Regions from separate parts of the Homo sapiens genome. Here regions 1, 2, 3 and 5 are each linked to region 4. The links are contacts of gene promoters, found by promoter capture Hi-C in blood cells and fetal thymus (Javierre and others, 2016). All regions are on one chromosome and are shown on one strand. Each heading gives the region's core, a stretch centred on a gene start or on the middle of the fragment in contact. The rest is flanking DNA. Distances are from core to core; before and after follow the strand shown. Region 1 holds the start of TENT5C-DT (TENT5C divergent transcript). Region 2 has its middle 9.9 kb from the start of CD2. Region 3 overlaps IGSF3 (immunoglobulin superfamily member 3). Region 4 holds the start of TRIM45 (tripartite motif containing 45). Region 5 overlaps LINC02868 (long intergenic non-protein coding RNA 2868).

The links. The method cuts DNA at HindIII sites, captures the fragments that hold promoters and counts their contacts. A CHiCAGO score of 5 or more calls a contact.
Region 1: a contact is called between the fragment with the promoter of TENT5C-DT here and the fragment with the promoter of TRIM45 in region 4, in 6 of 17 cell types (total B cells, monocytes, naive B cells and 3 more). The highest score is 7.8, in total B cells.
Region 2: a fragment that was not itself captured here is called in contact with the fragment with the promoter of TRIM45 in region 4 in 3 of 17 cell types (naive CD4 T cells, total B cells and fetal thymus); the score reaches 7.1 in naive CD4 T cells.
Region 3: a contact is called between a fragment that was not itself captured here and the fragment with the promoter of TRIM45 in region 4, in 2 of 17 cell types (fetal thymus and non-activated CD4 T cells). The highest score is 8.7, in fetal thymus.
Region 5: a fragment that was not itself captured here is called in contact with the fragment with the promoter of TRIM45 in region 4 in 1 of 17 cell types (naive CD4 T cells); the score reaches 5.1 in naive CD4 T cells.

The regions. Positions count from the first base shown.
Region 1 is chr1:117,604,138-117,608,003 of GRCh38, reverse strand. It overlaps TENT5C-DT (TENT5C divergent transcript), which reads left to right and starts at 2,234. Exons shown (of 3, transcript NR_121626.1): 1 at 2,234-2,358; 2 at 3,068-3,215. TENT5C (terminal nucleotidyltransferase 5C) reads right to left here and starts at 1,956. Exons shown (of 2, transcript NM_017709.4): 1 at 1,851-1,956. RefSeq lists a silencer at 1,891-2,230 and enhancers at 2,141-2,641, 2,642-3,142. The HindIII fragment of the contact is 6,964 bases long and covers 572-3,866 here.
Region 2 is chr1:116,742,632-116,746,473 of GRCh38, reverse strand. It overlaps the pseudogene NEFHP1. Among named protein-coding and RNA genes, the nearest start is that of CD2, 9.9 kb to the left of the region's middle. The HindIII fragment of the contact is 1,575 bases long and covers 1,477-3,051 here.
Region 3 is chr1:116,661,115-116,665,010 of GRCh38, reverse strand. All of the region lies in intron 2 of IGSF3 (immunoglobulin superfamily member 3), which reads left to right. Among named protein-coding and RNA genes, the nearest start is that of IGSF3, 4.7 kb to the left of the region's middle. The HindIII fragment of the contact is 806 bases long and covers 1,811-2,616 here.
Region 4 is chr1:117,119,619-117,123,912 of GRCh38, reverse strand. It overlaps TRIM45 (tripartite motif containing 45), which reads left to right and starts at 2,164. Exons shown (of 6, transcript NM_025188.4): 1 at 2,164-3,199. The coding sequence starts at 2,712. RefSeq lists an enhancer at 1,730-1,899 and a silencer at 2,210-2,399. The HindIII fragment of the contact is 3,223 bases long and covers 919-4,141 here.
Region 5 is chr1:116,696,846-116,700,763 of GRCh38, reverse strand. The region is part of intron 2 of LINC02868 (long intergenic non-protein coding RNA 2868); the gene reads right to left. Among named protein-coding and RNA genes, the nearest start is that of LINC02868, 4.7 kb to the right of the region's middle. The HindIII fragment of the contact is 467 bases long and covers 1,785-2,251 here.

The sequences.
Region 1 (3,866 bases), core at 985-3,484, 480 kb before region 4:
AAACTCTTTATTGAGAATATATGTACTCTAAAGCTATGGGTATACCTTAAGAGAAAAAGTTCATTATCTGAAATAAACTAAGCTTGACTCCAGAGATCATTTTCCATCTTCACAAACAAGAATGTCAAAGGACAGAACCCCTGCAGCCCAGCTCAGAGGTTTCCCTAAAAGCCCAGAGAAAAGTCAGCATTCTTTACTCCCCATCCCCCTCCCCCTTTTCCACTGCAGGGCCTAACGTGGCTGGTCTCACACCCTCAATAATACCCTTGGGGATTTAAGACAGTAAAATTCTGGGTAAGCTCTCCTACCACTCTTGCGGCTGCCCAACTTACTTCCTGGGCTCATTTCCTTGCCAATTTACTCACGTTGAAAGGTTGCTGTCGCCAACAACGGTCACCCTCTTTCCTGCACGCAGAGGGCAGCTGAGCCAGCCAGAAGTGTACTTTGGGAGGATCTAATCACCCTAACTTTATTTCCTGGGCTGGTTCAGTCTCCTAACCCACCTACAAAGTAACCTGAAGACCAAGTTGTCACAATACAAATAATTATGCACATAGTATTTATAAAAGCTTTCTTACTATAAGTGCATTTTAAGCACTTCATTTGTATGCACTTTATATCTCCGTAAGAAAGCAAAAATGTTAAAAAGGAAGCAGGCCCCTACTTAATTAAGCCAGGGAACTGGTTAGAGCCCTACAAAAGCCTACCTATGGACAAAAAAGGGCGAAGGGGAAGGGAGCTGACACTATCCCTCCCGCAGGGTCCAGCCCTAATAGTGGGTTCTCCAGAAGCTCGCCAGGCATTCATTTCTCCAGGGGAGCGCCCTTACTTGGAGGTAGCGCTGCTTGGTTTTCTCGCCCGCCAGCGTTGAGTTCAGGTGTGCAGGCTACCAACCTGTATTCTTCAGGTAAGTCACCCTCCTCTGACTCGCCTCCCACCCTGCTCCCTCCTGCCTCGCGACCAGTGCGAAGGGAGTCCCCGAACTGCGACACCTCCCGGGGCAGCCGCACCGGTATCCGTCCGAGTCGACCCACTTGCCGTGGCTTTTCACCTACGCAGTAAAGCAAGTTTCATTTTCAAAAGGAGAGGAAGCAGGTTTCACAGACACCGCATTCCCAAGAAGTTTCTGAGAGACGCGCAGCGCACAAGTCACTGGCTTGGATCCCTTTGCTGCTCATGGTGTCCACAGTCTGATGTGAGCGCATTAAATTTAAGGATCTCCGCCCTTCTCCTTAAAACTCAGGACTTGGCAATGAGCCTAGGAAGCGCCCCTCCCCTCCCCAACCAGATCCAAGCCCCGGACCGCTGCGTCTCCAGCTGCGCCTAGTGAAACCGCCGAATTCGAATTCACACTCGGCGGGCCGGCGAAGGTGTGCGCGCCCGCGGGAGCGCCGGGGCGAGCCCGAGGGACTGCAAGCCAGGAAGGGAGGCATGGGTGGCGGGGGGCGCCGTCTGATCCAGGTAGGAGCGGAGGCGCCGATCACACACTCTTCAGACGCCCTGCCCGCGCCTGGCCAGCGCGCAGCCTGCAGGACGCGCGGAGCAGGAACTCGCTGGAGTTTGCCAAGCCCCAGGTCTCTGGAAAGTTGTAGCTCCCTTTCGGAGCGTCTCTTCTGGCCCTTTGGGACGGGTGTGTCAGGGGCGGGGGTCCTCGAGGGAGCAGGAGGGGAAAGGAGCACCGGGTCTCGGCACCTGTCCGCAGCTCCCCTCGGGTCCGCCTGCCCCCTACCAGGCTGGGCAAAGACCTGAGCACCACTTAGTGGGGGCGGACCCCCACTAAGTGAGCTCGCGGCTCCCTGGGGCTGCTGCCGCATCGCCGCACCTTTAGAGGAGGGGGGTCGCGGACTCACCTGGGCAATAGAAGAGGAGGCGACAGAGGCAGGTCCTTGGCGTGGGCAGGCCCCAGCAGGAGCGGCGCGACCTCTACAGCCCCTAGGCAGCGGCACCGAGTGAGCCGTCCCGCCGCCGCCCCCTCCGTTCTTATACGGCGGGACCACGCCCCCGTCCCCGCCCCTGAGCCGCCCTCCCGGGGGAGCCAGGGGCGGGGCGTGGCGGAGCCAGTCCCCTCGGGACCCTTCCGCCCGGCCCTGACGGCAGGGGCGGGGCGAGGGCTGCCCTCTGATTGGCTCTTCGGGTGAATGGTTGCCAAGAGACGAGTAAATCCTCAGCGGCGGGAAGGGGCGGGGTGCTCAGGGAGGCAGCACTGCGCAAGCGCAATAGAGGGGGCTGCGTCGACACCCACTTAACTTCGGAGTTAGTGGGACACCTTTCTTTTTGCTTAGTACGCTTTTCTGCTATTCCTGCCGCATAACTCTCTCTTCCCCAGGCTTTTCCCATCTCCATCCTATTCTCTCGCAGGCAGGTTTTTCTTCCGCCTCTCTGGGGATTTTCGCGTTGGTTCTCCCTGCCCCCAGGAGTGAGGCGGGTAACGCCCACGCCTACCTCCGGTGTGTGTTTTTGAAGTCGGAAAAAACTTAATGGTTTCTGGGCCCTGGGCACCTTTCTGATTCCCCAAGCAAACTGGCTGGAGGCGAAGGCGTGGTCTTCGGGGAGAGAGCGCCGGCGGCTCTCTGGCCCCGGGGACCACCTGTGTGCAGTTAGTGGGACGAAGGGCCTCGGGGAGTCCATCGCCAATGTCGGCAGCCGCAGCCGCTTCGGCCCCATTCGGAATGCCACAGCACTTGGTCCAGTGTGTTATATAACATGCAGGCAGGGCTTGGACACCATCCATTCATAACATAGCGAGTGGTTTACAGCCCAGGTTCTGAATTCAGACTAATCTGAGTTGAGATCTCCATGCACCACTTAAACTTTCTGTAAGGCCTTAGGCAAGTAACTGAACCAACCCTCCAACAACCTGCGTCTCCTATCTGTAGGACAAGACTAACAATGGGACAGCTCTGTAGAATTATATAAGTATTAAGAAAATACGTGGGAAACAATTAGTGCATTGCCTAGTGCCTGTTAGAAAGTGTGTGGCAAATGCTGTATGTATCAGATAGTAGCCAATGTTGGACAATGTTATTTATCAATAGACATTATTGTACTTGTATTGATCGTTTACTAGGTGCTGGGGGAAAAGATTACTTCCCAGATGCAGTATTTACATCTCCTCCGCCCTACTCTTCCAACCCTGCCTGAAATAAGTGTGGTTCTCCTGTCTGTCAGACTATGAAGAGTTCTCAAATATGTCTTTCCCAGCGAGGGAGAGGAGAGTGAGTATCCAGGAACTTTAATGCGATAGGACATCAATATGAGTGTTTATAGGGAAAGCCAGTGATCCTATTGTTAGACGCGAAATCAAGACATATGATCTGATTTTTTGTTTTACTTTTTGTTTTTGAGGTATAACATTCAGTAAAGCGCACAAATCAAAAGTGTCCAGAATGATAATTTTTTACATATGCATACCCATGTAACTGCCATCCATATCAAGATGTGGAACCTTTCCAGCTCATTCATGCCCCTTCCCATTCAGTATCCGACAAGGATTACCACTATTTTAACCTCTATCACCATAGATTAGTTTTACCAATATTTGAACTTGCTATGGATGAAATACATAACACGTACAATTTTATGTCTGGCTTCTCTTGCCCAACAGTGCGTCTATGAGATTCATCCATATTGTTGTGTGTAACAATGGTCCATTCTTTTTCACTACTGTGTATTACTTCATTATATAAATATTCAACGATTTGTGTACTCATCCTACTGTTGGTGGACATTTGAGTTGCTTCATGTTTCTGCCTTTGATGAAGCTGCTGCAGACATTCTTACACATGTCTTTTGGTGGACATAGCATTCATTTATGTTGGATATATATATATACCTAGGATTGGATTCCTGGTTCATAGAGTGTTCAC
Region 2 (3,842 bases), core at 1,015-3,514, 380 kb after region 4:
CTTTTCTGAAGTAGAGAACTGCCTTTGACTTTGCAAGTCTCCACAAGGTATAACAAGACAAGCATCAAAAGTAATGATTTGGGGTGACTTTGACCTGGTTACATTAATAATGAGATGTGGGGTAGCTAAGGGAAAGAGAAGAGGAAAAAGGGACAGTCAGATTAGGCTTTTTTCTTTAACATTACTCTGGTGGGGGTTGGTCCTGGGGTGACGGTCCATGACTTTTTTTTCTTCTAAGATTTTTGCTTTAAATCCTTCTTCTTTCACTCCTGAGATCAGGAGTTCTTCTTGTGAACAAAGTACACCAGATGGAGGATAACAAAGAGAGGAGTGAGCTGCCCCTGAGTCGATTAAAAAGGCAATGAGCTCGGGTTTGGGTCCCACCTCTAAATTTATCAATGGCTCTTGGTGGAACTCGAGATAAAAGAAACAGAGCCCCTGACCCCCCTATTCTTCCTCGAAGGCCATAGGTGGGATGACTTCCTTTTCTTTTTCCCATTCAGGACATTCCATTTCGAAGTGACCTATTCTTCCACATTTGAAACATTTGTTCTGCTCTCTTTCTCTCCTTATTTTTAAATTCCCTTGCTTTGCTTTTTCATACCCTTTATATGCCTAGCGAGTGGGGGCTTAAGTTGTTTACAGGTTTTGGCCCCTTGGGTACTTTGTTGTAGAGTGGAGAGCTGATTTTTGCCTTTTGCTTTTGCTTTTCTTCATCCGTTCTTACATATGTTTTTTTGGGCCTCCCTCAAAAGTTCCTCTATAGGCCGATCTTTCCAGTTCTCTATTTTTTTTGTAATTTCTTTGTGATACCTGGCCAACTATTAGTGACAAAATGGAGCTTTAACATCACCTGCCCAAGGGGATCCTCTATGTCTAAGCCTGCATATTTTCTCATCTGTTCCTTTAGTCTGTTTAAAAACTCCATGGGCCCTTCATCTTTCCCCTGCTGTATATTAAATGCTAGTGAAATATTTGGGGTTTGAGGCATTGATTCCCAAATCCCTTTAACTATCATCTCCCTAAGGTCTTCCATGTTTTTTCGGTGGGTTGCATTATCATTATCCCATTGGGGGTCTTGGGCTGGAAATTTTTGTTCTACTGCAGGGATATTTTGACTGGGAGGATGTGCATGCTCCCAGACTATCATAGCAGCCCTGTGGATCATGTTTATTCCCCTCCACCACCCAAAAAAGAGAATACTTAAGATGGACATTAGCCCAAGTATATACTTGTGGTCCTAAAAATTGGTCAATTTGATCCACAACCCCAAAAGGATCATCTAATGGTGATTTAAGTTCCCTCTTCAGGTTTCTGACCTCTGAACTAGTTAAGGGGGCATTTTCAGAGCCAATTCCCCTCCTCCAAGTGGTACTTCTCTTAAGGGAAAAAGGGTTGGGGCAGACTCCTTTGAGGAGGAGGGGAAAGGGAAGTTTCGAATATCCTTTTTACATTGTTCTATTTCACATTGAAGCTTTCCTAGGACAGGGCATTCAGACTGGGAATGGCCCCAAGAGTCAGGATTATAAGGGGAGGGAACAACGTGAGCAGGGGAAGGGTTTGGGGTGGTTACATCTGCTTGAGGAGGAGGCAAAGTTGGTGGTGTTTAGCAGAGGAAGGTGGTCTAAAGGATCCCATGTGTTAATGGACTGTTTGGGGTAGGGGTCTCAATTTCTTTAGGGGAGGTAGTTTCTGGCTTATTTCCTGTAGCTTTTAGAGGGTAGAAGAGGACAGGCCCCTGCCCCCAGCACAGGGCATAGTCTATTTCCTCTTGGGAGACAGGACTTTTATCATTGACATATTCTATTAAAAGTTGACAAATCCAATCCTCATTTGACCCAAACCTTGGTGAGAAAACTGAAGATTTGAGAATAGGTTTTTTTGGTCCAAATAAAGCAACAATATTTGGTCCAAATAAATCAACAATATTTATCATTTTCTGCTTCTTCTTATGTTTGGTCCTTTCATTATCCCTCCAATATTTTAACATGAGACCTAGAGGGCTATCAGAGGGAATTTTATTGTCTGTCTTGTCCTTTATATTCCCTGTCCTGCTTAGGGTATTTCCCATCCTGGAAGTTGTAGGCATTTCCCTGAGTTTCCTGACTGTGTGTGGCTCATTCTCTCTTACTAGAGATTTCTTGCACTCTTTCTCTGGAGGCTCAGCAACCCCCTCCCCCCCAACCACTGGAAGTTTCTTGAACTCCTTTGCTTTCCCTTTGTCCTTCTTTGGCTGTTTCTCTCCTGGGAATTTAGGTCCTTCTTAGCATTGATGGGTCGGTATAAACCCCTGACAGGAAAGCCACCTTAAGCCATGTGACGTGACCACAGAACAGCAAATCCAGACTCCACACTCGCTTTGCACTTAATTGTGCATCTTATTCACACACTTTCAACCTCCAGGACATCCCAACCACCAAGGAAGTACTTCACCACCCCCGCAGCTTTTCTTACCTTGGTCTATGCACAGAATTACCTGGTCACTGCAGTATCTGTAGGCCTTTTCCTCCCATGTTGCTGAGAGTCTGGGTTTATTCGTCACGCCAGGTGGGTCTCGATCCCTCACTCCTGAGGCAGCTGCAATGAGGCAGTGGGATGCGTCTCCTCACAAGAGATGATCGGAGACCCTTCCCCTGAGGAGAATGGGATCCTAGATGAGCCCCCAAGTTGTTAGAAGCAAGTGCTCAGTGCCACAAGGAAAAACCAGCACTTAGATAGAAAATTTCTCAGCAAGGCACATTTACTTTGCAGAAGGGTGCTGCCTGCATCCCTCCAATCACAAGAGCACACCAAGTCAGCTAGGGCAGGGATTTTTATCCCTAAAACAGTTCCTGTTTCTGTGTCCTTTCCCCATTGGCTGGAGTTGGGCACAGTCTAAGCTGACCTGATTGGCTAGTGTTTGAAATTGAATAAGGTCAGTTAGGCAGGAAGGGAGAGGCTGTCCATTACCAACTAGGTGGGAAGGGTTGTTTACAGAATAAGACATTTGCTCTTTACAGATTAAGCAGAGAAACAAGTGCTCATTACTGATTAAGAAAGACCATGGAAGCTTTGAAGAGGAACTTGTTATTTCTGGCAGGACTATGGTCAAAATTGCCATTTCTGTATTTCACACTTACCTGAATTTTTTGAACTGTGAGATTTTGGAAGAGAAAGAAATTCCAAATAGGATTACATCCCCTCACATTTCAGTGGAGGACTCTAAGCCCTGAGAGGTTCTGGGTTGTGCCTGTCCCCTTCCTCCACACTTTCATCACCTAATCCCTAGCCCTTTGGACCTGTGCTCCAAACTCGGAGACACTGCTTGCTTCTTCCTGAGACCTCACTGTCACTTTTTGCCTTGCACACCTCACTTGTCCTTAGTTGCAGTAATCCCTGCGTCCCACCTCACCTTCCTGCCTAACTTCCATCTCCTCTCTTTGGTGCCTCCACTTGCACCCTCATTACACCTTCCCACAGACTCAGGGTAGAAACACAAAAAAGGAGTAAAGTGTCTAGCATTTTTTTTTTTTTTGAGATGGAGTCTTGCTCTGTTGCACAGGCTGGAGTTCAGTGGCACAATCTCAGCTCACTGCAACCTCCCTCTCCTGGGTTCAAGCGATTCTCCTGCCTCAGCCTCCTGAGTGGCTGGGACTACAGGTGCACACCACCACACCCAGCTAATTTTTGTATTTTTAGTGGAGATGGGGGTTTCACCATATTGGCCAGGCTGGTCTTGAACTACTGACCTCATGATCCACCAGCCTCAGCCTTCCAAAGTGCTGGGATTACAGGCATGAGCCACCATGCCCAGCTGCATTTTTACCAAAAACTGACATTTGAGTGCCTCCCATCCCGTCCTG
Region 3 (3,896 bases), core at 964-3,463, 460 kb after region 4:
CAGTGGTTCTCAAACTCTCGTGTGCATGTTGGAATCACTGGGGAAGCTTTTAAAAATTCTGATTTCAGGCAACAACCCCAGATCAGTGAAACCAAACTCGCTTAGGGAGTGGGACCCAGGTCTCAGCCTTTGAGCTATCTCAGGTAATTCCATGCATGGTTCAGTAGAGAACCAGTGGGTGAGTTCACTAGCGCCAGTGCCCTACCACCCAACGCATGCAGACACCCTGCTGGTAGTTTAGTTAGTCTTCTGTTCAGCTGTGGGCTGGGATACAGGCAGTGTCTCCATGTCACCTGTATGCTCAGGCAGAGTCAAGAAGGCAGGGAGCCCTTCATTTGCCAGTCTCTTCATATTGGATCTGTATTTGTTGTACTGTATGTGTCATTCGCTTAGTGTCTGGGTTTAAATCAGCAATTAGTGATTCATGTGGATTCAACAGGACACAAACAAGGAAAGCCCTTGGGGAGGTTTGGATGTGGGGTGGGGTGTGTGGCTAAGGCGGGAAAGAGGGCTGAGTGGCAGGGTGGGGCCCAGGGCAGGAGAAGTAACCATCAATGGGAAAACAAGGCAATGTGACATTTGTGCCTTTTGTTTCTTCTGGCTGCTCAAGTAATGTAAGGCTGCATGCTGGTCCCCCTGCTGTTCGCTCTCTGGGCCACTCTGTGGAGTGGAGCTCGGGCCCTGGCACCTGGCAGGTGCTGTCATTTTCCCTCCACCCTCATCTTCATGTGTAAACAGGTGCCATGGAGGAAAATGAGCATCAAGGTGGCTTTAAAGGGGCACAGTGGCAGACATCCAGATGCAGGCTGAAGTGGGAAGGTTTGGAACTGTAGGCATGCATGTGGATCTCTGCCTGATTTGGAGCCCCACTGGTGGAACCTCATCTTTCTCTTCACCTGATGGCTCTCAGTATGGCAGGAAGGAGGCCTGGCTACTACTTTACTAATCTGGGAGAGGTAGAAGGCGTTTGGGGAGGGAGCAAAACCCATGTTGGGGTCTTATTTCCTGCTTGTCTTCTGATGTGGTCTGGTTCATGTGTCAGCATTCTTGCTGCATAATGTGAATTAATGTGTAGTATGAATTTAAAACAGCGAAGAATCCCAAGGTTTTAAGCCCATATAGGTCACATGCCTGGAATAAAATTTTGTTTAAAAAAGTTGGATAAGGCTAAGTGCTCTGAAAGTGAGACCGATGCAGGTACCAGCCTCTAGAAATGGCAATTTTAGTTAGAAAACCCTGGACAGTATGTGAGGGGTATACAGGGTAAATCTCGGAGACGCTTTCATCTCCCTCAACATGACAGACCTGTGCTTTTCTGCACCTGTCCTTTGCCAGTGTCTGGGATTGGAATCAGATTCCTCTTTTCTGTCTGTTGGGATACTGATTCCTGCTTATGTCTTTGTCCTACCCTTTGTCTTTGTACCTACCCCCTTGACCTCTGTGTGTTGTTTCCTTCTGTCCTAACCCTAGGTGCCTCACCCAATAAGGGTTGTGGTGGCAGTGCATGGCTCTGCCACCACAACCCTTGGTTCCAATTACAAAGCCATTTAAGCCTGGCTCTGGTTGAACCATGAGGGTAGTAAAGTCTCTATTTGAGGATAGATGTGGCCAGAGGGGCAGAAGATTAGAGAGAGAATAGAGGCTGGTACAGTGGTAGGAAGGGAAGGGTGACTGGAAAAGTGCCTCTGTCTGGGAGCAGCCTGCATGAGTGACAGTGACATGGGAAGATGACAGCAATGTGGGAAAGAGAGCATAGGATTTGTGTCTGTAAGAACAGGAAGGAAATTCTCAGGAAAGATGAATATAAGCTTTAGACACATACAGCACATTTTGATTTTGTGTAGCCAGGAAGAGTTATATACCTCCCAGACCAGTGCTGATGTTGCAAACAAGATTAAATAGCTTTAAAAGTGTTAGCAATGAAAAATGTAGGAGATTGGGACATCTGAGAACCTGTAGATGGCAAATGATCATTTGTGTTCTGCTCCAGAGGGAGAGAAGTTCATTTGTAGAGTTTGGGAAGTCTCTTCTTTGAATACGGTAAGGCTGAGGAAGCCATCTCTTACTTCCCAGTTAGTTAGAAAAGGCTTCTGAAAGGGATTGAAAGAAACTTTGAAGTACTATGGGTGTGACCTCAGAGGCAGGGCTGGAGTGATCAAAGGCAGAGGAGAAAGAGGAGGCAGAGAAAAGTGAGATGGTTTGGAGCAATCAGGAGAAGGGTTCTGAAAGAAGGGGATGAGGATTGTGATTTATGGATGAACAAACACCACTGTCCTAATAGTTGTCCCAGAGGTAGTGCACTTCCCTTTCCTGGGGACCATTTGACAAGGGTGCAGGAGAAGGAAATTCTTGTCAGGAGGACTTGGCCTACTAGGATGCCTTTCAGCTGTGAGAATCATTGAGCTACCTCCAGGTACCCAGGGCTGTGTTAAGATGTTGCCATCTTCTACGGTTTTCATGGCAGCAAGACTGCTGGTACTTCCATAATGGCAGTAATACCAGCTCTCCTAACTCTAGCCCTTACTGTGACCCAACTATATCAATCAGTCTTCAAAACAACCCTGTAAGATAGATACCTTGCATTATCACATTTTTATAGATGGGGAGATTGAAGCTTAGGGAGGTTAAGTAACTTGCCTAAGCTGGGCATGGTGGCTCATGCTTGTAACCGCAGCACTTTGGGAGGCTGAGGCGGGTGGATCACTTGAGGTCAGGAGTTTGAGACCAGCCTGGCCAACATGGTGAAACACCGTCTGTACTAAAAATACAAAAATTAGCCGAGCATGGTGGCACATTCCTGTAATCCCAGCTACTCGGGAGGCTGAGGCAGGAGAATCGCTTGAACCCAGGAGGCAGAGGTTGCAGTGAGCCGAGATCGCGCCGTTGCACTCCAGCCTGGGCAATGAGCAAAACTCTGTCTCAAAAAAAAAAAAAGAGTCACTTGCCTAAGATAGATTGCTGACAGTGTTAGGGCTCCAAGCTCCTGCTGTCTTGCTCCATGTGCATGCTCTCTATTCCCAAGATGACTTCATGGTCCAAGATGACTCTTCTAGCCGCAGCCATCAGGAAGGAAGAAAAGGCTAGTGAAGGGTAGGACCTCTTAATGTAAGGATACTTCCTGGAAGTTATATACATCACTTCCACTAACATTCTCATTGGCTAGAACCTAGTCATGTGACCATATTTAGCTGCAAAGAAGGCTGGAAAATATGCTTATCCTGAGGGTCCATGTGTCCTGAGAAAAACTTGGGATTCTATGACTGTAGGGAAAGGAGAGAACAGATTTTGGGGGACAGCTGCCCATCTCTGCCATAGTCACAAAGCTAAAAAGTGGCAGAGTAGGGTTTTGAAGCCAGGACCATTTGGTTCCAAATCCTGTGTTCTTACATCTAATAAGCTATTCCGTTTGACTCTGAAGCCGAGCCTCTGGCTTCTAAGAAGGCTTGTTAGGAAGGCATGAGTTAGATGAACCAACGTTTGTTTCATAGGAAGCAACCTAAATCAGCATATAATTAAACACTACATTTTGTGGTTTTATCAGTGAGTATTAAAGTGTTTATAGAGTGCTTATGTGCCAGTCACTGTGCTAAACACTTTACATAGCATGACCTTCTGTATAAAATTCTTGAAGACCATCTGTCATGTTCATTACTGTAGTCCCAGAACTCAGCCTTGTGCCATGCAAAGTAAGCAGGTGTTCAGTTATTTTATTTTTTTTGAGATGGAGTCTCACACTGTTGCTCAGGCTGGAGTGCAGTGGCACGATCTTGGCTCACCGTAACCTCCGCCTGCTGGGTTCACGCGATTCTCCTGCCTCAGCCTCCCGAGTAGCTGGGATTACAGGCACACACCACCACACCCGGCTAATTTTTTTGTATTTTTAGTAGAGATGGGCC
Region 4 (4,294 bases), core at 915-3,414:
ACGCCTGTAATCCCAGCGCTTTGGGAGGCCGAGGCGGGTGGATCACCTGAGGTCAGGAGTTCGAGAGGAGCCTGCCCAACATGGTGAAATCCAGTCTCTACTAAAAATACAAAAAATTAGCCAGGTGTGGTGGTGCATGCCTGTAATTCCAGCTACCTGGGAGGCTGAGGCAGGAGAATCGCTTGAACCCTGGAGGTGGAGGTTGCAGTGTGCCGAGATCCTGCCATTGCATTCCGGCCTAGGCAACAAGAGCAAAACTCAATCTCAAAAAAAGAAAAAAAAAAAAAGGGAAAGGTAGAGGTAGCCCGAATATAATCTTAGATATGGCATCATAAGGTTGTGTTCAAGTTCCAGATATGTTAACTTGGGCTGGCCATCCAAGACCTGGCAAGACCTCTTTGAGGCCATTTCCTTACAATATTGTTAAAGGTTAAATGAGATACTGCTAAATGAGATATTGCACGTGTAAATTATGAAGTACTTCTGAAACAAGAGAAGCTTGAAACTACTACCACAAGAAATGTGATACAGTATGAACAAGAGATGAAGTAAAGCACAGCCAAGCAGCAGGGAGGGTAAAGGTGAAGTTCAAAGCAAGAATATATAGCAAACCCAAGTCCACACAGTTTTTGTGACTTCCTCCAGCCTACTGGAGAGGCGAATGCCGATTTTGAGAGTAGATGCAAGAAGGACAAGAGGCTGAAAAAAATCTAGGTAAGGACTATTTAAAAATCTTTGGAGATATGCTTAACATTTGGAAATTACTTGCACATTTTATATAAAGGTGGCATTTGACTCATTGGCGTGTTATATTTTGGAAATGGCCAAACATTTCATTTTTATATTTTATAATGGTTTTTTTTTTTTTTTTCATATTTTGGGGTTAACTTTTTTTCAGATTCCATACTTTTAAAAGCTTAGGCTCCAGACACTATGCCTATAGCATGAAACAGATAATGAAGGAATCAAGTGAAACAGTCGCCCACTGGGTACAAATTAAGTAGGGAAGGTCATGAACAAAGAAAGCAGTGAGGGCCCAGTAGACAAGCTGACGCAACTGGAGATAACAACAGGTGGAGGGGAAAGGAGCAGCTGTTTCCATTTTTGGAATTTTGGAGAATCAGGAGACGCCTGGTAAGGCCAGAGAAGGTGGCCGTGTAATTATAAAGTTAAAGGGGTCGGACGTGTTCATCTTCCCAATTAGTTTTAAGCCCACAAAGGGCTTGTCCCTCATTGCCACCGTCCATTGTCTCACTGTGACCAGGCAGGAGCCCTCCGTGATTGACTGATAAAAACAGCGGGTCCAACTCGCTCAGCTCGTTTCTGTTACACAGGACTGTGGAATCCCGGGTGACATTCAACTCCTTAGGTCATCTGCACTCCCCCCGGACCGGAAAACAAAGCCTTCCCGAGCCCGACAAGGAGGGTGGCGCTCCCTGGCCCGGCCGAAGTAAGCCCTCCATTCGACACCTCGGCTCCACGGTCTCCCGAACCGGTCCCCGTAACGCGAGCCTGAGATGCCCTCACCCCCGAAAAATACCCAAAGTCGGGGAGCCGCGGGAGTGCTTGTACCCAGCACGCTAGGCCTGAGGGACCTGTGAGCTACAGTAAGCGCCTGAGGACAGAGGGGAGCCTCGCAGCCTCAAACCCGCGTGGAGGAGAAACGTCTGGCGCCCCCGAGCGGCCGAGACCTCGGGAGCCCGAAAAACGTCTCCCACTCCCAGCGCAGAGCCAACTGACAGTGCCATCCACCAATGGGAGAACCCAGTCTGCGTTCGTGGGACGAGTCCGAGGGCAGAAAGAAGGCCGTCCCGGCGCCAAATCAGCGTGGCTTTTTAAGAGGTCCTGAGGCCTCTCTGGTCACCACAGAGAGAGGGACAGTCCCTGTGAAACGGTGACGCTGACTACACTATGCCGCTCGCTCCGAGCCTTGGCCTTTTCCTCCCGCCGCACTCTAAGCCCTTCGGCCGCCCCGCCCACGGCCTTGTCAGGTCCCGCCCCCCGCGTGAGTGGACTGGCGAAGATGTGGAATTTCCAAAACTTATTGGATGCTTAGTGGCGTCACTCTGGAGGGCGGCGGGGCCCGGAGCGGCGAGGGCCGCCGCTCTCGGACGGTGATTGGACTCGCCGGAGTAGACCGGGCTGGGATTGGTGTGAGGAGGGGCCAGAGCCCGCGGGCGTCCCGGGCCGAGGCGCGGGAGAGGCGGTGGACACCGAGAAGCCCGCCGGCGGCTTGCAATTCCCTCACCCGGCGCGCGCCTTTCGCAGAGGGAAGGAGCAAGAGGGCCCCTACCTCATCGTGCGCGGGTGGGGTCGGCGCTTGTCGCGTGTGGCGCGCAGTGGGGCGGGCGGCGGGAGGGGGGTGGCAGTGGAGGGAGCGAGAGGTGCAGGGGTGACTTTGTTGGCAGCAGGACTAGCTGGAGAGCTAGACCTGGAAGCGCATCCGGGGAGGACTTGCGGGGCAGAGGAGGGCGTGGGCGTGTCTGGTGTGGGATGCAGTGGAAAGGAGGGGGCCCTCCTGAGTAGATCTGTGGGTGATTCCTTCGAGGACGCCTCGTCTTCCCGTCTGCCCTTTTATTTGTCAGCGAGGGAGTCCCCATGGTCTCTGTTCAAGTTCTGGAGACTTTCTCTTTGGGTGGGCTTAATCACCTGCTACTAAATCGTAGAACTGCCCAGGGCCCTTTCTAATATTGGTCACAAACGTGAGGAGTATGTCAGAAAACAGAAAACCGCTGCTGGGCTTTGTAAGCAAACTCACTAGTGGGACTGCACTTGGGAACTCAGGCAAGACTCACTGCCCCCTGTGCTTGGGGCTTTTCAAAGCCCCCAGGCTCTTGCCTTGTTTGCATACAGTTTGCACCACGTGTCTGGAGCAGCTGGAGCCCTTCTCAGTAGTGGACATCCGAGGGGGAGACTCTGACACAAGCTCTGAGGGGTCAATATTCCAGGAACTCAAGCCACGAAGTCTGCAGTCGCAGATCGGCATCCTTTGTCCTGTATGTGATGCTCAGGTGGACCTGCCCATGGGTGGAGTGAAGGCTTTAACCATAGACCACCTGGCCGTGAATGATGTGATGCTGGAGAGCCTACGTGGGGAAGGCCAGGGCCTGGTGTGTGACCTGTGCAACGACAGGGAAGTAGAGAAGAGGTGTCAGACCTGCAAAGCCAACCTCTGCCACTTCTGCTGCCAGGCTCATAGGTAAAGATGGGACACTCCATCAGGTGTAGCTTAAGAGCAGATTACAAAGAGGTGTCAAGACAAATCCCTCGGTGAGCAGATGAAAAGGAAAGCCTTCTCAAATACCGTGGAAGGTCAAAGAGCAATATAACAATGCAATAGCAAATACTCCAGTACAACAGTTAACCCGGTTAGCCTAATATAGTACCTAATATATAGCCTAATATAGCAATAGCAATAAACCCTTTCAATTTACAAAGTGCAGCTACAGTTTCCTTCAGTCATTCGTGTAGTGAATAATTGTACTGGGTGCTGGAGAAACAGGAGAATGAATATAACAGCATAGATCCTGTTCTTGATCTCCTTCGATCTTGCAACTCTTACAGAAAAGCAGGCCCTGTTTTCGCCCCCATTTATTAATTGGGGAAACAAGCTCAGCAATATTATGTGATTTGCCAAGGTCCTACAGTTGGTAAGTGTGTAACAGAACTGAGTATTAAATCCAGATCATTTTGACTACATTCCAGTAACCCATGCTGTGCTCCTAGAATAGGTGATGATGATTGGCCGGACCTCAGCTTTTGCTTTGTGTACCTTAGAGTTACTCTGGAGCTTGGTGAGGTGGGCTGGTAGGTGTTAATTGGGGTGCAGACTATGTGTTTTATGGCATTTGGTGAATAGTTTGTCAGATGGATCACTTTTGTCCCTTCGTACTCTTACCTTACCCCATCCTAGGACACCAGAATATAAAATGACCACAGTTTTAGGATTAGCCTAAAATAGGTTTCGGGTTCTACTTCCATTTGTTTTCTGGCTACACTAACAGAACAAGTTTGTAGACTTCACTCTATTTTTAACTTGTAATTATGTGATAGTCCCTGCGACTGTCTTGCTGCCAGCCAAACCAGCTAACCCTATTTTCTCTGCAGCCACTCTTCTGGTGCCAGAATAGGCATATAAGCTTCAAATTGATACAATGCTAATGGAGGAACTCTGAACAGTCACCATGTTTTCCTAAGGATTTCCCTACATCTCTAGAGGGCTACTATAGGAAAGGAATTAGAAAGAGAGCTTTGATTCTACTAACCATTGGTTTCACACTTTCTTTTCTCTTTT
Region 5 (3,918 bases), core at 769-3,268, 420 kb after region 4:
GGAATCAATGAGAAACCTGAGCAAATACTGTAAATTAATATTGGAAGACTCAACATTTTCCCATTGATATTGAGATCCAGGCAAGAATGTTTGTTTTTTCTCTTCTATTCAACATTAATATTGGTGTCCCACCAGTAAAATAAGACCAAAAAAAAAAAAAAATCTTACAGATTAGAAAAACAGAAGTTAAACTTTTTTTATTCACATAGTACACAATTTTCTTTTCTTTTCTTTTTTCTTTTCTTCTTTTAGTTAATAGAGATGAGGTCTTGCTGTGTTGCCCAGGTTGGTCTCAAACTCATGGCCTCAAGCAGTCCTCCCACCTCAGCCTACCAAAGAGCTAAGATTACAAGCATGAGCCACCATGCCCAGCCATGTACATAATTTTCTATCTAGAAAATACAAGTCTACCCTGAATGGCTACTACATTAATAAGTGAATTTAGTAAGGTTGTAGAATACAAAGTCAACATAAAAAATAAATTGTATTTCTGTATACAAGCAACAAATAAGTGAGACATTAAAATGTAAAACATCATTTACAATAGCATCAGAAATAGATAATATTTTGGAATTAATTTAACTAAGCATGTATAGGACCTATGCTAAAAACTACAAAAAAACTACTGAAAGAAATTAAAGACATTTAAAAAATGGAGACACATAACTGTTTGTGAATTGGAAAACTCAATATTGTTATGCTGTCCATTCTCATCACATTGATATATAGATTATATGCAACCCCAATCAAAATCCCAGCAGGCATTTTTTCTTTAAGCAATTGTAATACTGAACCTAAAATTTGTAAGAAATTAAAATAGCCTATGTTAGCCAAAACAATTTTGAAAAAGAAGTTCAAAACTGAAGGACTTAATTTGATTTCAAGACTTACTTTAAAGCTACAGTAATCAAGAAGTATTGCCTCTGGCTGCTTCCTCATTATGATGGTAGAGTTGAGTAGTTGTAACAGGAACCATATGGCCCAGAAGGCCTAAAATCCTATCTGGCCTTTCACAGAAAGAGTTTGCTGACCTCTGTGATACATGATGCTCATGTGTAAGACACTCCTATCTATAATTCCTGGCCTACCTGGTATTATTCCACCACTTTCTCTGTTACTCATTATAGCATATTAAAGTGCAGATGAGGGAAAATAATTTTAGAAATAATATTTAATCCCTTCTAATTTATTTAAAATCAAAATTGTTCATAGATTTTGGCACTTTATGGTTAATAATATGTTATTTGCAATATCCCTTACAACTGTATACAAAGCCATAGTGGAAAACCAGTCCTACCAGGATGAAGATAATTACACATTAAATTTGTATTCTATGTAAATATGTATATGAGGCATTATAAGCATTATTTGACCCATTTTTTAAATGAGGAGGCTGACTGGCAAATGCATCTATTAGAGCCTGCAGAAAGTGAGGAAGGCATGGTTAGGAAAAACAGACCAATTGGACAGTGGAATTAATAGGTTCAAATTGGTGATAGATTGGACATAGGTAATGAAGACAAGAAAGTATTGGAAAAGTAATTTTGAGAGTTGTTGTGAATCTGGGTTTTTAGACAGGGTTGCCATTGACCTGGTAGGAAAATTGTGAAAAAACATTTATTTCGCCACTGAGAGCAGGTTGATTATGAGTTCCATTTCTAATTGCTTAAAGTGGTGCTTTCCAAATTAATGGATTTACAAAGTACCTGGTCATCTTGTTAGAATGCAGATTCTGATTCAGTAGTTTTGTGACAAGGCCCAAGATTCTGCATTTCCAATAAGCTTCCAGGTGATTCTGATGTGACTGGTTCAGGAACCACACTTTTTTAGAAAGGCATTAAATGTGACTAAAGGAAATCCAAGTGTAGATTTCTTCTGGAAGGTAAGAGGAGGGTCCTGACAGGGAATACTGTTTATGCAGTTGGAAAGAACCTATTTGTCTTCTCTAGAGGCAAGATACATAACTAAGGGCCTGTAATCTTGAGGAGATTCTCAGTGCAGAGAAGAGAAGGATCCAGAACAATCAAGGAGACAGAATAAGAGCTATCAGAAAACTAGAAGAACCAGGAGCATTTAGCATCATTAAGGAATCCTATGGAATATTGAATTTCAAGGAGTCAATCAATGAATTCCAACATGCAACTCATTCATCACACAATCTTTCCTGGCCCCCTTTCTTTGCCTCCTTTGGTCTTTTTTCCAGCGCTCTCTAGAATGTAGTAGATGCTTACTGGACTGTCTGTCCAAAGCTTCCCCACTCCTTTTTTTTTTTTTAGGAAAGCCTCCCATCATCAATATGACTACCATAAGAGCTGCCATGTTTTTATGTGACTCTCTGTCCTCTTCCTACAGTTGATTGGTCCAGGCATGGACACCTGATCCCAGCTCAACCAATCATAAATTTCTTCTCTGGGATTATTCAAACTAGGATTCTACAGAGACAAAAGTTGTCAGGTGCAAAACAGTCTTTATAATAGGAAAAGTCGTTTGGCACAAAATCTACTAGTCCTAATATGCAGCCATGTTAGGAGCCAATAGAGAGAAAAAGTAAAGACAGGTGATGGAAGACAGTCCTAGAAGTGTTCCAGTTTTTGTTCCAACTGTTCCCAAGCCCAATTACTTTCGTTCCTTTCCCATGATTTGGTTATTCAATGTTCCCTTCAGTGACCCAGAAAACTCCCCCTGTTGCCTAAGTGAGTTTGAGTCACTTGCAACAGAATCCTGACTAATACATGGCAAACTTTATCCCCACTCATTTTGTCTTATACACCATCTTCCTTTGGGCCCCTGCACCCTGTTGACTGCAGCTTTCCCAGGTTTTTCCTCAGAATGACACCAGGCCAAAACCAGCTGCTGGGCAAGGACCATAAACCCCACTGTCGGTCTTGGTGGATGTTAATGTGTCACTGAACACCAATGTACCAAATCGATGTATTCATGGCAACAGCCGAAAAGAGCCCACAAAAGTCTAATCTTTGGCACACTGGGGGCTTCACTGGCAGATTGTTAAGACCCTGGGGGCAAAACTTAATTTGCATAAGTATTTGCAATGCACAATTTCCTTTTTATTCATTTACACTAAATTAAATTCATTTTGGAATCCCCAAAGTTATTGCTGTTGACTTCTCTCCCCTTACTTTATGTTCTAGGTATATTTCCCCAAAACTGAAAGCCATTTTCATCTCTTGTTTTCTGGATGCCTCAGATCCCAAGTGAGGTTTTATCCCTCCACAGTTCTTTAAGATTAGCAAATTAAATTAACTCCTTAACTGCTGGGAAATTTAAAAAACAAAAAAACTGCTGTTTTGCAAAAATGCAAATATTATTAGAACGCCCTACTCTCTTCCCTACCCCCAACACACACACACACACACACACACACACACACACACACACACACTGGCACGCACACAGGCCTGGCTGCGCTCGAGAAGCCCACTTCCACCACCCCTTCTGCAGACAGAAATGCTGGCATTCGTAAGCTGTCACACTGAGGAAGACAGCAGCTGTGTTATTCCATGATTTATAGAACAGATTTGCATTTCCTTGCCTTTGAAGCTTGCCTATAATCTGACACATAAATATTTGAAAGACAGGATGGTGGAAACAGACCTAAGCAGCTTAATCGAACACTCGGCAGGTAGAGGACTTGGGCTGGTGTTCATTTCAAACACCCCCTTGCCCTGAGGCCTCTTGGTGTGTGTGTACAAAATTGAAATTCGGTGTTCAAACCCAAACCTACAGTCACAATTCCACTTGAAGGAAAAGTCAGAAGAATGCCCCTCTGAAAGCAGGTTTTGTTTCGTCTGGTCTCCTGAGGCAAAAGCCCAGTAGTCTTCCTTAAATTCTGCTCCAGGAAGCAGGAAGCAGGGAGTATAAGTGTCTCAACCACTCCAGAAGCCCCAAGTGTGCTCATGC